Regions from separate parts of the Homo sapiens genome. Here region 2 is linked to region 1. The links are contacts of gene promoters, found by promoter capture Hi-C in blood cells and fetal thymus (Javierre and others, 2016). All regions are on one chromosome and are shown on one strand. The core of a region is centred on a gene start or on the middle of the fragment in contact, and the rest is flanking DNA. Distances in the headings are between cores, read along the strand shown.

Region 1 (4,756 bases), core at 1,508-4,007:
CATTTTATATAAAGAAACAATTTAGGAAGAAAAAAAGACCTACTTTAGATTAGAAAATATTTTTAAATTAGGAGATAAAGAGGTGGAGATGGGACGGAAAAAGAAGTTAACATACAAATTATTACTGTCCTTAAACTCAGTTTTTAGGAGGTAAGTGGACTGGGCTTGGGTGTTCTTGGTGGCTTAGGATATGGGTGCTGATGGGGCAGAGAGGACCAGGTATGTGTGCAGAAAGATACGCACTTAGTGGGATCTTCTCCAAGTAAGTGTTGAATGTAGAAGAATTAGACTTGATGAGAACACTGGGTGAGGGTGGACTCTTAGGTGGATCCTTGGATGAAGTAGGAGCCTGCAGCTGAAAGGGTGAAAGAAGGAGGTGGTAGGAAGGGTTTCCTTCCCCGTGTTGCAAGGCTGCTTCTCTTAATTCTGTGACTTTACTACAAAGCACAGAGGACTGTGACCAACATTTAATAAGCCTTCAATAAATGTTGATATTGATACCTAAAATTCCACCTATTAGACATTGATTTATGTTAACAACTTCCTTCTTAAAGTAAAAATTCTCTTGGGAAGGCCCAAGTCAATTGACCATTCATTCTTTATGATGAATGTTTAATAAGACTGCTTTCTTCTGGATATCTAGTTGAGATCAGCTGAACAACGAGAGTTTTATGGCTAAATGGATATGAAGACACGAGGCAATTTAGGGTCACGGAGATGCTCGGCTGAGTTCAGGCACAAATGGGGCCTTGAGAAGTCAGAAGTTCTTACTTCTCTAGATAATATCCTCAAAAAGCCAAGTGAAGATATTAAGAAGAAAAAGCCAAAAATAACAACCGTGGCTATACCATTTTGGGAACAGAGTTGGATTCACATATCCTCCGTCCTTCTACTTTATAAACATTATTTGGAAAATTAAAAGTCGAAAATATTATAAGATTAAAATTCTGTGAGTTGGAGTCAACTTGTCTTCTAAAGCCTAACGCTTTCTGAGCCTCAGTTAAGTTACCACAAGAAGCAAGCCACCAAATTTGCCATCCAGAACTGTGATGCATGCTCTCATTTCCAGCAAGATGTAAAGCAGGGTTTTCATAACTGTTGAAGCTGCATCACAACCATCTCCACAAAGGACCATTTATCAGTTATTTTGGGAAAGGGGAGGGTTTTTTTAGAAGAGAAGAAACCACGCTAATAAGCTTTTTGTCTGCAATCATTTCCCACTGAGATTCCATATCAGTACATCTCCATTTGCTACATATTTAGCTTTAAAGGAAAATGAGGTGAGATGGAGATATTTGAGTCATAAAAGCAATAAAACGTGCTTCCGGAAAATAGCTTTCCTTTCAGTCCCCAGACCTGCACTTCCCAGATATAAAGTTTGTTTCTTTAACAAAAGTCTTGGTCAAGTATAGCCAGGCATACTGATTATCAGAGAAATATATACATATGTTTATAATTCATATGAAAGGAAAGAGAGAAAGAGCCAAAAAGAAGGGATAAAAAAATAATAGCTTTAGAAATAGAGAAAAGAAACAAAAACAAGACATACACTACGAGAACCCCTTGTAACCTGCACCCTTACCAGCTGTCCAGGAAACCCAGGGTACCTCCATCTCTCAGCTCAGAGGTTGGTGACAGGTGGTGTCTTTTATTCATATGCCCTCCCTGGGGCTCTTAATAATTGGTGTATTTCTTGTAGTCCCTTTAGTAGGCTGGGGGCAGTAGTGGGAGTGAGGGCGAGTTGGATGCTGGCTTGTTAATGGAGCTGAAGGGAGGGCTACAAGGTGACAGATGGGATGAAGCTGGAAGCTTCTTTGGTGGGAAGGGAGGGTGTTCTAGGTCATGAAGAATTAGATCCATTGAGTTGCTGCAAGAAATGTCCCATTCCTTGAGTTCCTAGGTGATTGACTTAATCTGCCCATCAGTCTTTGTGTGGTTGGTTTTGTGGTTGTGTGGATAAATCTAGACACCAAGGACCCTGGATATACCCTCCCAAAGCAAAATAACACTGGGGGCTGGGGTCACTTATTACTTGGCTGGTGTCCATGATGGGAAAGATCTCAGGGATGATGGCTGATGTTGTTGGCATTGTCTTTGCTTGTCCAAGGGCTGCTGTAGAAGAAGCGAACGGAGTGAGGGGAAGTCCAGGGGTATGAATGTGTCGTGTTCATGGGTTTTTCACCACCACCGGGATCCTGTTGTGACCTACCCACTGGTCAAGATGAAATCCCTAATAACTTAGGTGTTAAAAGACTGGAGGTTGCCCTGTATAAATTGGGTCACCAAAAGTTCCTTTTAAATTTTGCATAGGGCGGTGGCTCATGTCTGTAATCCCAGCACTTTGGAAGGCTGAGGTGGGAGGATCACTTGAGGGCAGGAGTTCAAGACTAGACTGGGCAACATAGTGAAACTCTGGTTCTACTAAAATACAAAATTTAGCCAGGCATGGTGGTGTGTGCCTGTAATCCCAGCTACTCGGGAGGCTGAGGCAGGAGAATTGCTTGAAACCTGGAGGCAGAGGCTGAACAGAGCTGAGATCGTGCCCCTGCACTCCAGCCTGGATGACAGAGCAAGATAGTCTCAAAAAAAATTTTTTTTGTTTCATATGTAGTACCATAGCACCAAGAAAGTGCTTAGGTGGTAAGTACAAAGGTGGCCAAGGTGAGTTCTGACAGTACAGAATGGGGTTTCCATGGAGACGGCAAATAATGAAGCAGTGGATGGGGGAGGGGGATGTATGCTCCAAGGTTGTGCCCACTCGGCACGACCCAGGTTCCATGCTACAGGCCTCTACTTGTCCAGACCTGAGGGTCAGATTCAGATGGTGCAAATGTTTAAGACCTGGGTCTTCAACGAGATGAATTATCAGCTATTTCATAGCTGCAGTGTTGGATATGCCGAGACGATAAAAGCAACAGCAATCAGAATCAACAGTTGAAACGACATGGCAGACGCTGTGAATGCTATGAACTGCTGTGCTGAGCAGCAGGATTCCTGTGTCCTGGCGCAATGCCCATGGGGATTCATGCTTTCAGAGGGTCACGCCTCAGGAACACGTAGAAGGGCAAGCATTTCATCTGGCAGGGCACTGATTTAATCTGCACGCATGTTTGGCTGTAAAACTAGCTCCTCCCCCTTACCATTTTTGAGTCGCTGCCGGACTCAAATTCCACAGATTCTGGAAGGTGTCCAGGAACTCGTTGATTTGTCAAACTTATGGCTACACACAGCTGGAATGGAGACGGACTCCACTGAGGAGACTCATACAGGACAGGAGGGAATTTTAAGAGGATAACCCTGGTAAGCCATGGTGGATTGGGTGATGGGAGGCTGTGTAAGAAAAGCTCTCTGACCTTGACTTCCAGGAATTTACTCTTAGATGGTTTAATCTAGATACTACCAGAGCTTGTAATACAGAAAATCCTGCAGGTAGGGAGAAGAGATTACCCAGAATTAGTTGACAGTCTATGTTTCATAGAGTAGAATCAAAGAAAGATGTCCTTATGAATTAAAAAAGCAAGCAAACTATGGTAACTTGAACCAGTTTCCAGTGCTAACGTAGCACTGCCAAGAAAAGACACTGTAAGGTCACCACTGGTCACTAGATACAGCTTGTTTTAAGTTACAATCACATTTACATAAAAACAATAAATGGTCTACATCACCTTGAAAAATGGTTTTTCCTTCCAGTTGTAAGCACTTTATGTCCTGGTGAAATGCTGCTCATCTGATTATTTTACTATATTGAGAAGAGGAAAGGGGAGGACATATTATTTTCTTAACACCTAATGGATCCAGACACATGTTAAATGCTTGACCTCCACAACCATGTTTAACTGTTAGAACAACATGATGTGTGTGTGGTTTATTATTTCTATTTTCCAAATCAGGAGACCAAGGTCTATAGAGATTACGTAGCCTTCCTGGGCACTAGGAACAGGGACAGAACTGGAACCTGTGCCTATCTCTTTCTGTCGTTGCTCCTTCCAACATATCATGTTGCTTCTCAAAACCAACAGTGAAAAAGTATTCTTTAGCCTAACCTGAGCTGAAATGGCTTAGATATGAAAGCGTAAAGTTTCACTGGCTGTGCATGATGCAAATTTCTTAAATATAGGCAAATATAAGCATGTGTGGGTATAATTTCTGTATTATGTGTATACCTTTATATCCATATGCTGTATAGTATGTGTGTATACATATAGTGTGTGTGTATATTTTATATTTATACACACACATATGTATATGCACACACACACACATATATATAAACCATTAATCTAGGAATCAACAAACCACATCTGATGATATTTCTGCATTGTCATAAAGCCGGAGAGAGAAGCTTCCCCCAGTTACAGGAAGAGATTGTGTGATTGTGTCTGTGCTTGCTTTTTCCTAATGTCTGCATGTTGGACAGAACTTGGCCTAACTCTCATGTTCATGGTAATGTAGCATCTATTTTGAACCACAGGAGGATGGAACATTGACCAGAAGAACCTGACCTTAGTTGATGGCAACTCTGTTTTATTTCCGCTGCTCACCTGGGCCTCTGAATAACCGGGTTTCATTACTACAAGGCTGGCTCACTATGCACCCCTTCACCTGTTCATTTGCCCAGTGTGTGTCTAACCCAGCCATCCACAGCTATGTCATGAAGACCTGTGCATGGATCCCCACCTGCCTTTCCCATGTTACCTGCGAGCTTACCAAAGACTTGGGATTTTTCCAGCATGGTGAAAGATGAAAATGTGCTTGG
Region 2 (4,756 bases), core at 1,684-4,183, 290 kb before region 1:
TACACATCATGTGAACTTTGTAGGAATGAACCGTTCTTGTCTATTACTGTTAATGAGCAGCCCTAAGGGGGTGTGACGGAGATTGCATTCATGAGACATTCATTGCATTCGTTATGTGCATGCCGGGGGTAGCCAGTGGAGTGGGTGTTTCTTTTTTAAAATGTTCTTTTAGGGCCGGGCAAGGTGGCTCACACCTGTAATCCCAACACTTTGGGAGGCCAAGGTGGATGGATCAACTTGAGGTCAGGAGTTTGAGACCAGCCTGGGCAACATGGCAAAACCCCATCTCTATTAAAAATACAAAAACTAGCCAAGCGTGGTGGTGCACACCTGTAATCCCAGTTACTCGGGAGGCTGAGGCGGGAGAATCGCTTGAACCTGGGAGGCGGAGGCTGCAGTGAGCTGAGATTGTGCCATTGTACTCCAGCCTGGGCAACAGAGTGAGACTGTGTCTCAAAAAAAAAAAAAATGTTCTTTTAGTCGCAGTTCCTAACCTCAGTGATATTCCGCAAGTCCATCTTCCCCGGGAGGAGGTGTGTGCTGTAAAGGGGTGTAGGCATTTTGGGTCATCCCACAAAAGGAGACACTACAAGCTTATGGAGCAATTGGATACAGGACAAGGGGCTGTCGCTCTCAATTAGGAATCATCTCTTGAACAAACATTTTTGTAAAGAAGATACACAAATGGCCAACAGCATGCGGACATATGCTCAACATCACTAGTCTACAGGGAAACGCAAATCAAAACCACAATGAGATACACCTCACACCCATTGGGATGGTCATCAATTTAATAAAGCAAAATAGAAAATAACAAATGTTGGAGAGGATGTGGAGAAACTGGAACCCTTGGGCACTGTTGGTAGAAATGTAAAATGGTGCAGCTGCTATGGAAAACAGTAGGGATGGCTCCTCAAAAAATGAAAAATAGAAGTACCCTATGATCTGGCAATACCACCTATAGGTATATACCCTGAACAACTGGGAATAGGGTCTCGAGGAGATATTTAGACATCCATGTTCATAACAGCATTATTCATGATAGGCAAAAGGTTTTGGAAATAACCCGTGCCTTTTGATGTATGAATGGATCAACAAAAGGTGATCTACACAGACAATAAAATGTTATTTAGCCTTAAAAAGGAAGGCAGCCAAGCGTGGTGGCCCACTTCTGTAATCCCAGCACTTTGGAAGGCCAAGGCAGGCAGATCACCTGAGCCCAGGAGTTTGAGACCAGCCTGGCCAACATGGTGAAACCCTGTCTCCATAAACAAATACAAAAATTAGCTGGGTGAGGTGGCACACACCTGTAGTCCCAGCTACTTAGGAGGGTGAAGTAGGAGGATCACTTGAACCCAGAAGGTGGAGGTTGCAGTGAGCCAAGATTGCACCACTGAACTCCAGCCTGGGCGAGAGAGACCCTGTCTTAAAAATTAAAAAAAAAAAAAAAAAAAAAAAGGAAGGAAATTCTGATACACGCTACAACATGGATGAACCTTTTTTTTTTTTTTTTTTTTTTTTTCTGAGACAGAGTTTTGCTCTGTTGCCCAGGCTGGAGTGCAGTGGTATGATCTCGGCTCACTGTAACCTCCACCTCCCAGGTTCAAGAGATTTTCCTGCCTCAGCCTCCCAAATACCTAGAATCACAGACACAAAACACCACATCTGGCTAATTTTTGTATTTTTAATAGAGATGGGGTTCCGCCATGTTGGCCAGGCTAGTCTCAAACTCCTGACCTCAGGTGATCCGCCTGCCTCGGCCTCCCAAAGTGCTGGGATTACAGGCATGAGCCACCACACACAGCCAACATGGATGAACCTTGAGGCCATTATGCTAGGTAAAGTAAGCCAGACACAAAAGGACAAATATATATGATTCCACTTATATGAAGTACTAGAGTGGTTAAATTCATGGAGACAAAAAGTAGTGGTTGCCAGTGGCTGAGGAAAACGGGGAAGGGGAAGTTGTTTAATGAGTACAGAGTTTCAGTTTAGCAGATGAAAAGAGCTCTTGGGTGAATGACGGTGGGGATGGTTATACAACATTGTGAGTGTACTGAATGCCGCTGAACTGCACACTTAAAAATGGCGGAGACTACAAACTGACTTCCGTGTATGCTGCTCGAGTGAAGGGTGCACCAAATTCTCACAAATCACAACTAAAGAACTTACTCATGTAACTAAATACCACCTGTTCCCCAAAAACCTATGGAAATATAAAAATATTTTCCAAAATGGTTAAGATAGTAAATGTATGTGCATTTTACAATTTTTTTTAAAAAAGAAACTGTCTCAAAGTGACAATAGCGTCCCTTTGAAAGATGCTGCTAGACCAACTAAAAATGGTCAAATATACACGTATTTGGTTATAAGAAGCTCATTCCTATCTGCAAGACCTGTCTAAGTTGACTGGTGCATTTGTCATACTTGTCTAGGCTTTTCACCTTTGTCTCAGTTGACAAAGAAATCTTTAAAATCAGGAGACCTTTAAAATAAGGTTAGGAAACATGTCCACAGAGCCAGAAACACAGCCATGGATCAAAGGAATCACATTATTATTATTATTATTATTATTCCTTTTTTTTTTTTTTGAGATGGAGTCTCCGCCTGTCACCAGGCTGGAGTGCAGTGGCGTGATCTTAGCTCACTGCAACCTCCACCTCCCAGGTTCAAGCAATTCTCCTGCCTCACCCTCCCAAGTAGCTGGGACTACAGGCATGTGCCACCATGCCTAGCTAATTTTTATATTTTTAGTAGAGACAGGGTTTCACCACGTTGGCCAGGATAATCTCAATCTCTTGACCACGTGATCCACCCGCCTCGGCCTCCCAAAGTGTTGGGATTACAGGCGTGAGCCAGCGCGCCGGGTCAGGAATCACATTATTAAATGGTGCCGTTAGCTTCATAACATTCCATTTATTTATAGTAATTAATTTATAAATGACTTCTCCTAATCAATAAAATGGCCTAAGGGGTAACACTTTGGAATTTCCAGCTTCAAATGATACTTTCAGGTTTCAGAGGGAAATTGAGGGAGAGGGAGTTCCTACCTTGTAGATGCAGGACTTCGCGTTCAGAAAGAAAAGCTCAATGGTAGCATTATCCTTCAGGTATGAAATGCTTTCTATATAGAACCTGAAAGAGAAAAATGGTGCGTGAACCACAGAAACAGCAGGTGCAGAAAATAAAGTGCTCTCTTGAGCTACATGATTTGAGATGAAAGCTGGCATTCCCCATCCTAAATAAACAAAGGAAAAAGGCACCATCCATGGTTTTTCTATGATTCCCTAGGGAGGACAAACTGTTTTTGGAGTTTTGATAGTGGCTTAGGGTCACGCCTAATGGGCCTCACCATAACCAAAGAACTGGGTCTACCACCAATTTGTAAGAACAAATTCTAAAACTAGGCCTCTGATTTCTTTGTCCTATCTGCTTTATAATTTTACATAATGTTATTTGTTTTCATCACATTGCTTGTTTGTCCTAAATTGTCATTGAGTTGGATTTTCTTTTCTTCTCCTTTTTTTTCTTTTTTTAGACAGGGTCTCGCTCTGTTGTCCAGGCTGGAGTGCAGTGGTGCATGGCTTACTGCAGCCTTGACCTCCCAGGCTCAAGCAACCTTCCCGCCTCAGCTTCCTGAGCAGCTGAGACTACAGTTGCATACCACCACGCCTAATTTTTTTTTTTTTTTGTAGATACGGAGTCTTCCTTTGTTGCTCAGGCTGGGCTCAAATTATCTGCCCACCTCAGCCTCCCGAAATGCTGGGGTAATAGATGTGAGCCACTGTGCCCAGCCAAGTTGGATTTTTAAAAGATAATTTCTTCTTAATCACAGCTTTCTTTGAAATGGTTACTACTACTCCCGAAGGTGGTGAAGTGTGATTTGATTTCTGCACATTCGGAGAGCTATGCTAAGTGCTCTTAACACTGTGATATGAATGCATATTAAGCCAAATGAGAATCGGATTTCATCTAGATGGAGCTTATAGATATTTTCAAGATGAAACATGCTGCCATTATTTAAGTTTACACTAAATGTGCCTTTATAATATTGACTTTGGAGTTTATTAAATTCTTTAATGAGATAATGCGCTTGTACTGTCTAATGACCAGCCGCACTGAAGGACTAGGAGTTGAAAGGAAGAGAGGGGAAAGGTTGAAATGCAACATCTTGGAGGGAAGAAGGTTCTGAGCAGGTGTAGCAACCCTTAGGGTGGACTAGGAGGGTGCTGGGTACCTGGGGCTCTTGGAAACTGGGTTCACCAAGAAGAGGCAGAAGGTGAGGAAGGTGAAATGAGAAGAAACAAGTACTACAGTTTTCTAGAATAGTGTTATAATCTGAGGGCCAGAATCCTCTGGAGGGAGTCAGAGAGCAGTGATGGAGTCCCCAGCTCTGTGTGACTCAGGGCAGTCACATCATCCTGCTGGGCTTCTGTTCTTCAGACCGTAAAAGAAGAAGTGGTTCTCTACCTAAGAAGTCCACTGGTTTTTAAATATTGGAAACTGACTACAATGTAAACAACAACAGCAGCAGCAAAAACAAGAGACCAACATCGTATAAGGTGAACAAACTGATGCCCTTAGCTTCAAGAAGTTCTATTCATTTATAGTAATTAATTTAAAAATGAATTCTTCTAATCAATACAATCACCTGAGGGGCAACAACTTGGAATGTCCAGCTTCAAATGATACTTTTAGATTCCACTGGGAAATGGAAGAGGAGGAGAGTTCCTACACTGGAGATACAGGACCTCAT

The links. The method cuts DNA at HindIII sites, captures the fragments that hold promoters and counts their contacts. A CHiCAGO score of 5 or more calls a contact.
Region 2: a fragment that was not itself captured here is called in contact with the fragment with the promoter of FRMD4A-AS3 in region 1 in 2 of 17 cell types (activated CD4 T cells and endothelial precursors); the score reaches 6.1 in activated CD4 T cells.

The regions. Positions count from the first base shown.
Region 1 is chr10:14,071,527-14,076,282 of GRCh38, forward strand. FRMD4A-AS3 (FRMD4A antisense RNA 3) reads left to right here and starts at 2,758. Exons shown (of 3, transcript NR_120638.1): 1 at 2,758-3,300. All of the region lies in intron 2 of FRMD4A (FERM domain containing 4A), which reads right to left. The HindIII fragment of the contact is 2,533 bases long and covers 1,808-4,340 here.
Region 2 is chr10:13,779,872-13,784,627 of GRCh38, forward strand. FRMD4A (FERM domain containing 4A) reads right to left here. Exons shown (of 25, transcript NM_018027.5): 6 at 3,051-3,135. Among named protein-coding and RNA genes, the nearest start is that of PRPF18, 200 kb to the left of the region's middle. The HindIII fragment of the contact is 4,685 bases long and covers 592-4,756 here.